Linked DNA regions of Homo sapiens: region 1 is linked to region 2. Evidence: promoter capture Hi-C in 16 types of primary human blood cells and fetal thymus (Javierre and others, 2016). All regions are on one chromosome and are shown on one strand. Each heading gives the region's core, a stretch centred on a gene start or on the middle of the fragment in contact. The rest is flanking DNA. Distances are from core to core; before and after follow the strand shown. Region 1 overlaps TNFSF11 (TNF superfamily member 11). Region 2 holds the start of ENOX1 (ecto-NOX disulfide-thiol exchanger 1).

Region 1 (4,642 bases), core at 1,556-4,055, 1.2 Mb after region 2:
GGAAAGCTGCCTTAGCCAGTGTTTCATCAATAGCTCATCCTTAATTGCAACGCTCTTATTTCCACGGCATTCTTGGCTAACAAGGCACAGAAAGAGTGGCCACTGGGTGTTGTGCAATAGCTAATGAGATAGGCTTTAGTATCGCTGCCCCAGCCTCTCGCTTTCCTCCCTCCCCTAAAGCTCACACTGACCTTGCAATCCACAGGATGTGGGGGAACACATATATGCACCTGGATGGAGCTGGTGACCCCTGGTTCCTTATGAAGAGCCCATAGTGCAAAAACACCCAAAGCAAAGAACTTTAAGAGCAGGATTCATTGAGTTCTCTGTTGCCTGAATACATGTTATAAAAGATCATGGTGGATTGCCCTTCTCAGCCTAGGTTCCGTAGAGCAGAGCCCTATAAGACACCAGGAAGGGAGAGGACAGGAGCACTGGGGGAGGTGAGAGGGCAGGTCCTCACCCTCCCCAGAGGAGAGGGGAAAAATCATGAGGTGGGCAAGGGGTCCAGTGGCCCAGCAGGCAGATAGGAGGAGCGAAGGTAGGTAGGGTATAGACCCCACTCATCCCGAAGGTAAAAGCCATCCTCACCTTAAATTTGTAACTTAACATTCTGATCCCTATAATTCTTTATTTTTAATATAAAAGTACTGACTAATCAAATTCTCCCAAAGCCAAACTCTTGTCAACATGAATTCTACACACTCCGCACCACCACTACCACTGCACTCAGCCTCCTAATTGCTCCAGCTCCTACTGAATCAGCGGCCACCATCCCATGCCCATCAGTGAAAATTCTCAGTGAAAAACTTTACCAAGATGTGAGTTGGCCTCCTCCCCAAACCCCAAATACAGTCACTGGTGGATCATTTCTTCCAAAAGAAGTCTGCTAATTGGAAGAGACTCGTTTTTGCAAACAGTTCATGTCCTCTACCTACCAAAGAGCTAAAGAATAGCATGTCCTTGTTTTCATAAAGCAGACTGATGCTTTTCCTGGGAGTGCGATGGGTATGCTGGGAATAGAAAATTAGTTTTTATTGTTTAACCTTCATGGTTTAAATGAGAAAGCTTCTGCTACAGATAAAGGTCCCCTTGGGTTTTCATAAAGTAGTCTTATGACAGCAATGTTAGTCTTCATAAAGAGCCCGATTTTCAAATGTCTTATACTATACTACTGGTTTAAAAAGTGTCATCTAAAAGTTTGGCAGAGTAACTGCAGTGTGGCATCTTGGGCTAATTGTGCTATTTACCATGTCTCTGTTTTCCTCTGCCACTTGAAAAATAATGCCACCTTCCATTGGCAGTGCTTTCTACATTGACAAATCCTCATCTCTTCTGGAAAAGACTTTGCTCTCACAGACTTCTCCCTAAGAATGAGACGCAAAGGGGGTCAGAGATACCAGGCCAGCTGCTTTAGATCCATGAGGCCAGGAAGAAAAGGGCCAAGGCTACCAGTGAAGGAGCACCCCCAACCCCAAGGTCCCTAACGTGTTCACGCTCCAAAGAGGAAAAGAGCTCTCCTCTCAAAGAAGCAGGAAAACACTGAGCTTGCGAGTGACCTCCAGCCCCTTAAGAATCCTATGGATTGATCACATGGCTGGCTAGCTTCTGGCAATATTAAACAACTCGCCACCTGAGCACACCAAGTGTGCACACATAGGGCACAGGTCACTCACATATTCATTAAACTTGTTCTTTAAACTTTCACTGAGCACCAACTATGTGCTTGCCACTGGGGCTGGAAATGTAGAAAGGAAACATCCCACAGACCCTGTCCTTGGGAAGCTCACATTCAAGTGAGCCAGTTCACCCCAGGTCCGTGTGGTTACTGCTGTTACAAGAAGCCCCGTGTGGGCCCAGGAGGGGCACCTACCCCCACAGGTGGGTGGGCGGGCATCTGTGGGCTCCTCCTCCAGGAAGTAATGCCTGAGTTGGATTTTAAAAGACAATTAGAAAACCGACTACACAAAGAAGGGCATGGAGTGGCATACAAAGGACTATGCACAAAGACTCATCATTCATTCATCCATTCATCCATTCATCCATTCAACAAAGTTTACCGATGGAGGCTAGGAGTCAGGAGTCCTGTGGGTTTCTGAGGACACTGTTCGCAGGACAGACATGCCCTTTGCCCTCTCTGCACTTGCTGATTACTGCAGAGAGGCAGAGAGGCGAAAGGGTATGGCCAGGTCGGGAGAGTTCAGCACCATACTGTGGTGAGGCCGTGGAGTACAAGTTGCGATGGAGGCGATGACATGGAGCATTCAAGGTAACAAGCCTGAAGAGGCAGGGGCTGGAACGAGGCTTTCCAGAATACAGAGGACTTTTTGTTACATGTTCAGCAGCTCAGACTTCATCCTGACAACCACAGCGATCTACTGAAGGATGCTTTAAGCAGGAAAAGAAATGACCTGTTCAGATGTGCATTTTCGAAGTCCCTCAGCTATGGGAAGGATGGGCCAGTGGCAGTGAGGCCAGGAGGGGGTGGCCAGATGCAAGGATGCAGGCAAGAGAGGATGATGACCTCTGTTCATGTGACCACACAGTGAGCAGAGTAGAGACAATACTTGAAGGTTTTGTAAGGCGGTAGAATTCACAGGATGGGGGAGAGGTGAAGAGTGGGTGAATAAAAGGATAAGACCATCTTCTGACTTCCAGTTTGGGGTGGTGGAGATAATGGTATTGTCATTCACCATGAAAAACTAGATCAAATGAGAAGCAGCCACAGGCACTGAAGAGAAGAGTTCTGAGTGCTTTCAAACTTTTTGATGAATATGAGCCTTAGGGTTTATCATTATGATGATTATTTTTACTGGTACCACCACCACCACCGCCGCCGCTACCTAGTGTTCTTGAAGGGCAAAGACTGAGGACAGGAGTAGCAGCCTAGTGATGCAGAAGCTAAGTGAGAATGGAACTCCCCAACACCCTGAACTTCCAAAAGTTTGAGCAAGCATTTGTTGTCTGGTCATCTCAGAAACAGACAGCTCTTGACAATTTCCGGGACCCACCTCTTTCATACCACACAGGCTTCACACTCCTTCTCAAATATAGTCACTTCATTCACCATGGCTTCCCTGTCCACCAGTGGCTCTCACCTCTTCCTAGGATGCTTTGAAGAAATCACAGAGTCCACCCCTGAACTGCCAAATCAGAGTCCCCACTGATAGATCTGGAGGACTTTTCTCTTCTCTTTTTAAAACAAGGGCCCCAACTGAGTCTTAAGATCCAGGAGGTTTGGAAACACTGCTCTAAGGCACATCCCGCTCTTCAATTACACAGGCTGTACCTCTCCTGCCGCTGCTGGTAGAACAATCCAATCTATCCCTTGCTGTCATGCTCTCCAACCAAGGACCCTCAGTTTCATCCACTTCTGGAAGGTTAGCCCAAGATCCCAGGCCACATAATGAAGGCTCCTCTTTCAAGCATGTCCTTCCAGCTCTCTGTTTCTTTAAAGATGTCATGCAGAATATCTTTTCTTCCATCCTGGGGTACTTGTAACACAAAGAAAAGCCCACCTCTGACATAACTCACCGGTTATTTTCCTCTTGCAAACCCTCCTGCTTCCTACCTTCTTCCCTGGGTCTCCCCTGAAATTGAGTACAAGCCAATAACTTATTGTTGAGCTAAAGCCAATAGATGGCCTTGGTTTTGTAGGAAAACTCTGTGGGTCTTACTTCAGCTTTCCCATAAAGACAGCTTTTATAAACGCTAAATGTGATTGGGGTTGAATTGCAGTTTCCAAAACTATTATGGCAAACAGAGATGAAATCCTATTGGAAAACCACTACATGACTAACATCGTGACTTGGGAACATGAGTGCTCCAAAAACCAAGTACCCTTGTGGGTTTATGAGAAACTTTCTTCGGACACATACTCTTGTATACAAAGGGAAAGAGGCAATGAATGGGGTTTAATCCCTCCTCTCCTTTTTTTAACTAATAGGCAAATGAGAAATAGTGGCATATAACAACTTCAATGATTACAGTTTCACAAGCAGTTACAATCTATTTAAATTTCATTGATTTCTTATTTACATTAGTTCAAAAATAGGAATGAGCTCCTTATAATAATGGAGATTGCAATCCAAGGGGATCTGTTTCCCATATGTAGAAAACACAATCACTTAATCTGGTGAACTTTCTAGTTTTTAATTAATGCTCTTTTTAATCTACAAAACCTAGCAAAAGCGGTGCAGGTGACAATCAAGGTTTATTCCACAATCACAGATGCAATCTCTAAACAGACCTTTGAAACTTCCTCAAAAAGATGAATGCTGTTGAATCTACTTTCAAATTTCTCTCACTCTCTTGCAATCTAAATAATCCCAAAGTATTTTGACCTTTTGAAAATACAATCTTGACCATTAAAATTTTTAATAGACTTATGTGTTCTCAGAGTTAACTCTTGCTTATATATGGTGAGTCCTCCTTCCTACCTAAATGGGGTTTAGTGAATGTCAGAGACTGCTCATTGTCCCCTCATCTCCTTCCACTCCTTTTTGCCTATTAGTTATAGGCAACTCCCTTCCTCAAGCTTTGTGGACAAATGGCTGCTCAGCTAGAGACTACCTTGTCCAGTCTCCCTTGCAGCAAGATGTGGTTTATGAGTAACTTCCAGCCGATATGATGCTACTGGAAG
Region 2 (4,562 bases), core at 745-3,244:
TAAGACGATGATTGTAGAAATACCGAGGTCGAAGGATGTGGACTTGGTGCTACACCAGACAGCAGAATTAGCAGTCTGGGGTGACCCTGCATGTATTGGTCAGTGTCCATGAACACTACTCTTTACAGGAGAAAAATGCGTACCTGATAAGCTATTAGAAATGTGTATTTCTGGCCTGGAGCGGTGGCTCATGCCTGTAATCCCAGCACTTTGGGAGGCCGAGGCAGGCGGATCACTTGAGGTCAGGAGTTGGAGACCAGTCTGGAAAACATGGTGAAACTGTGTCTCTACTAAAAACTAAAAACTAAAAAAAAAAAAAAAAAAAAAAAAAAAAAAAAATTAGCCGAGCGTGGTGGCCGGCGCCTGTAATCCTAGCTACTAGGAGGCTGAGGCAGGAGAATTCGCTTGAACCCGGGAGGCAGAGGTTGCAGTGAGCCGAGATCGCGCCACTGCACTCCAGCCTGGGTGACAGAGCGAGGTTCCGTCTCAAAAAACAAAAAACAAAAGTGTATTTCTCTTAAAACTGTTTTCCCCATCCTTCTGCTCTAGAAGGGACAGTATAAACTGCTGGTGAACACTGACTTTCACATTTTGAGAGGTTAGGTTCTGAGCTTTGGCCCCCTCACACCCAGGGCATCCCACTGGGGTCCCTGCAGAGTGCTTCTACATGCATCCTTTGTTAAGGGTGCACAATGGATAAGTATTATTTTCTTTCTTTGCATTGGGGTTCTGACCGCCAGGGGGAAAAATAGCCACACACAAGGAAATGGCATAAGTTAAAATCAGGCAAGCCTAGTGGGGTGGTAATGACTTTCCCAGCATCCAAGTCTTTGCCTTCAGGTTACGTGAAGCTAGAAAACAATGTCATTCATTCAACATTTACAGGGAACTCACAAAGTACAGAGTACTATGCTAAGCACTGGAAGGCATGCAAAAGTGTGCAAAACACAATCCCTGCATTGAGGATTCCTGCCAGAAAGGGTATTTCAAGTATTACCCAGACCTTACGACCCTTGAAGAAATGCTTGTGTGAATAAAATCCCACTCAGAATTTAAAATAAGCAAGGAAAAGTATACTACTAAGACAATATATCTGTTAAGAGGCAGAGAATGTAAATGTGCTTTAAACATTTATTTCTGAAGTATTACAATGTAGTTGGGATGGAGGATCGGGGGATGTGGGTGTGTGTGGGGAGGTGGTGGGAGCGGTTCTTGGACGAGCCTGACTCTAAGGAGGCACTGCTTAGATGCCTGCACAGCTAAGTTGAATCCTAACAAAGAGGAGGCCGGCATTCTTACCTGGGAAGTGGGTAACTTTGAGAAAAAGTAGCCTCCAAGGAGGAAAAAAAGGCAACATGTCACCTGGGGTTAGGATCCCCTCACCCTTACCAACCTGAATGCTGACCGCACCCCGGCCGAGCCACTCTGGGCCGCACACCCCGCATCATCTGCCCAGGCCACGCGGCCCAATTCCACCGTCTACCCCAAGCCCACAATCCTGTAACACGCCCGCTCCAGCCTGGAGTCGGCCACGTGCGCCCGGGTTCTTCTCTTGGCCCTTCAGCGGGCCCGGCCCCTCCAAGGTCGCCGTAGCAACCGTGCGGTCCCTCTCTCGGTTCCCCCGCTCCCAGTAGAGCAGTCCCGACCGCGGCGGCGGTGGCGGGAGCGAGCGGCCTCGGCCCCTCCCGAGAGGGGGCAGCGCGACCGTGGGCTGCGGGCGCCGCCTCTGCTGCATCGGTGGCTGCGCGCTCCGCTCGGCTCTGCCGGGCTGGGATCCGGAGCCCTAGCGCGCCTCGCTGACTTCCCCTCCTCCTCTGCTGCCGCCCCGTGGGCAGCTTCTCCAAGCGAGACACGCGTTCGATCCTCCTTCCCCGCGTTTACGGATTTCCGGGGTCGTAGAATTTTGCCTCGGTCCCTACGAGCATCTCTCGGCCTCTCTCCCCCTCCCCTCGCGACTCCCCCACCCCGTGGGCGCGCGCGCACCCATACACTCACACTCGCAGGCGCGCGTGCGCACGCCCGCGCGCCTCCAGCCGCGGAGTCTCCAGCGCCCCTCAGCAGATCCCCGCTCTCCCGGGCGCCGCTACTCACACAGGCTTCCAGCCGCCACGGGGCGTCCTCTGTCTGCTGCAGCGGCGGCGGCAGCAGAGGGAACGGCGACTGCAGCCCGGCCGCGTCTCCCAGCTCCGTGCCCGGGACAGAGTCCGGGAGAAGCAAAGGAGGAGGAGGACGCCGAGGCTAGGAGGAGCCGCGCCGCGCCCGGCGCCCCACTCCGCGCAGCGGGTTGCCTCCGCTCCCCATACGGCGGCCCCAGGTAAGCAGCTCCGGGGCCCGCAGCCTCCCTGGGGCGTCCGGGCTCCGAGCCGGGGTCCTCTGGTCTCACCCCCGCCACGGCACCTGGATCTAGACTGAGAGGGGAGTGGGCGAGGGGGGAGGGGAGTGGAGCTAGAGGTGAGGCTGGTGAGGAGGGGTGCGTGGACGCGTGGGGGCTTCGGTGCAGCCCCCACGCCCTTCCCCGCCGTGCCCCGTCTCAAGCTCCCTCACTTTTACGCGCCCGGGGGTGCCCAGCGCCCCAGACAGCTGTTCCCCGCTCTCCCCTCCGCCCGCCAGCCAGTGTCAGCTCCGGGCTCCGCGCCCGCCGCGCGCCAGTCACCTCCCCTGCACCTTGGACAGCGCACCCCGCACCCGTCTCCCCCTGCGGGCGTCGCCCCCGGGACCCGTTCCTGCCCACACAGTGTTCCCGCTGCCCTCTTCTTTCAGGTTTTCACCCTCCCGCTCTGCATCCCTTTTCCTCCAGCCTTGGCGGACTCCGCTCTGCTGCGGGCCGGAAACTTTCCTCCCCGCCTAGTCTGCGCTGGGTACTGTTGTTATTCGTGACTGTCCCCTCTCGCGGGGAGCTCGGACACCTTGGACAGGTCTTCGTCGGCGGGAGCGCGCCCTGCCTGGCCCAACGCGAGGTAAAGGAGGCACTGGGGCAGCCGGACTCGGCCGCTGCCAGGGTGCAGAGCCCGCGCCTCGGCCGCTGGACGCCGGCCGCCTCCCCGCCTCTCCGGACCCGACACGTGCGAGCCTCCCACGGACGCGGCCCCTCCCAGACCACCCCACGTCCTCCCCCTGCACGGCCACAGCCACCCCATAGGTTGGACACCCGGGGCTCGCGGGTCCTGATTGGCTGAAGGCGTAACCCCGCCCTCTTTCGGAAGGGGGGTGGTTCTGGAGTGTTGTGGTTGTCATCCCGCGGCGAGCACATGGGGAAAGTGGGGTCGACAGGTGGGCAAGCCCAGCTCTGTGGAATCTCTGCGTCTCACTGTATAGCCACTGAGCCACGCTTCTTCACCCAGATACACTCCTGCTTCTCTCCTTTTCTCTCCCTCAATCTTTCACTGCTGTAACATTACATGAAAAAAACTGGCTTTGTAATCCCAATTTTGTTAAGATTGCATTTGTTTGGTGGTAGCAATTTTTAAAAGCAGACCCAGGAGAATGCAGGAAATACGTGCGTATGGAAAGGTTCCTGGCCAACTGGGCTGCAGATTTGAGTCTGGTAGTTTGGAGAAAGCAATGAAGCGTGCTTAAGGGATCTGAAGAGGGTGGAGAAAGTGGGAAGGAAATTGATTCCTGGAGGAGAGACGCAGGTGAGCGAGCTTGGAAAGCTGAGCTGGTGGGCCCGCTCGAGAGGTGGGTGCGTGCTGTTGGAGACGGCTCTGTCAAGCAAAGTGGTAATATTGGCTGGTACTTAGTTTATGGTTAACACACTCTGCTTTTGTTTTACTAGCGTTGCCACTTTGATAGAGACTTTATATTAATAATGTCTATTCATGTAATGGATATTGCTCATTCCAGTTTCTTGTAATATACAGATTTGAAAGTGATAATGAGTTTGAAAAAGTGAAAGCCCTCTTGGAGGAGATGCGTTAAACAGTTAAAGTGCTTTCGGAATATTGTGAGGGAAGACGGATGAGCATTGCATAAAATGCATATTGTTCTGGCATTATTTAGAGCCTTTGAAGAAATATATGTGTACGTATAAATGATACTGATTTCTCTTCATTTCAAAGCGTGATTGCCTCTAGCATTTTCCAGCTTTAATTCCTTCAGGCTGTTTTGATGTTGTGTCTGTACATCTAAGAATATTGTAATTCTTATCTTTAGAAGCCTTGTCAATGTGAAACAAACAGCAACTGATGCAAGTTAATGTTGACAACTTTATATTGAGTACACTGTGTGTTATTTTATTTGTAAGCTAGTGAAATATGCAAGAGTAACATAGCATGACTGTTGTTCCCCAGGGACCCATATCAAAACAAAGTGGGGAATCACATGAGGCTATTCCATGGAGAACAATTCAATTATTTTTAAGATGAATAAAATTTAAGATTCTTGGTTGTAAACAGCAACACTCTTTGAATTATCTTTGTACACATTGGTAGCATATGATAGTAAATCAACATATTAAACGTATTACATGATTCTAAAGTAGATGGTAAAGGCTTTCCATTATTATCATTTTTATATAAGTAGACAGGATTGCTTTTCTGACTGGAGGACCTCCTATTCAAGAA

What was found. The method cuts DNA at HindIII sites, captures the fragments that hold promoters and counts their contacts. A CHiCAGO score of 5 or more calls a contact.
Region 1: a fragment that was not itself captured here is called in contact with the fragment with the promoter of ENOX1 in region 2 in 1 of 17 cell types (naive B cells); the score reaches 5.6 in naive B cells.

The regions. Positions count from the first base shown.
Region 1 is chr13:42,587,233-42,591,874 of GRCh38, reverse strand. The region is part of intron 2 of TNFSF11 (TNF superfamily member 11); the gene reads right to left. Among named protein-coding and RNA genes, the nearest start is that of TNFSF11, 15 kb to the right of the region's middle. The HindIII fragment of the contact is 3,469 bases long and covers 1,071-4,539 here.
Region 2 is chr13:43,784,404-43,788,965 of GRCh38, reverse strand. ENOX1 (ecto-NOX disulfide-thiol exchanger 1) reads left to right here and starts at 1,994. Exons shown (of 17, transcript NM_001347969.2): 1 at 1,994-2,314. The HindIII fragment of the contact is 7,995 bases long and covers 1-4,562 here.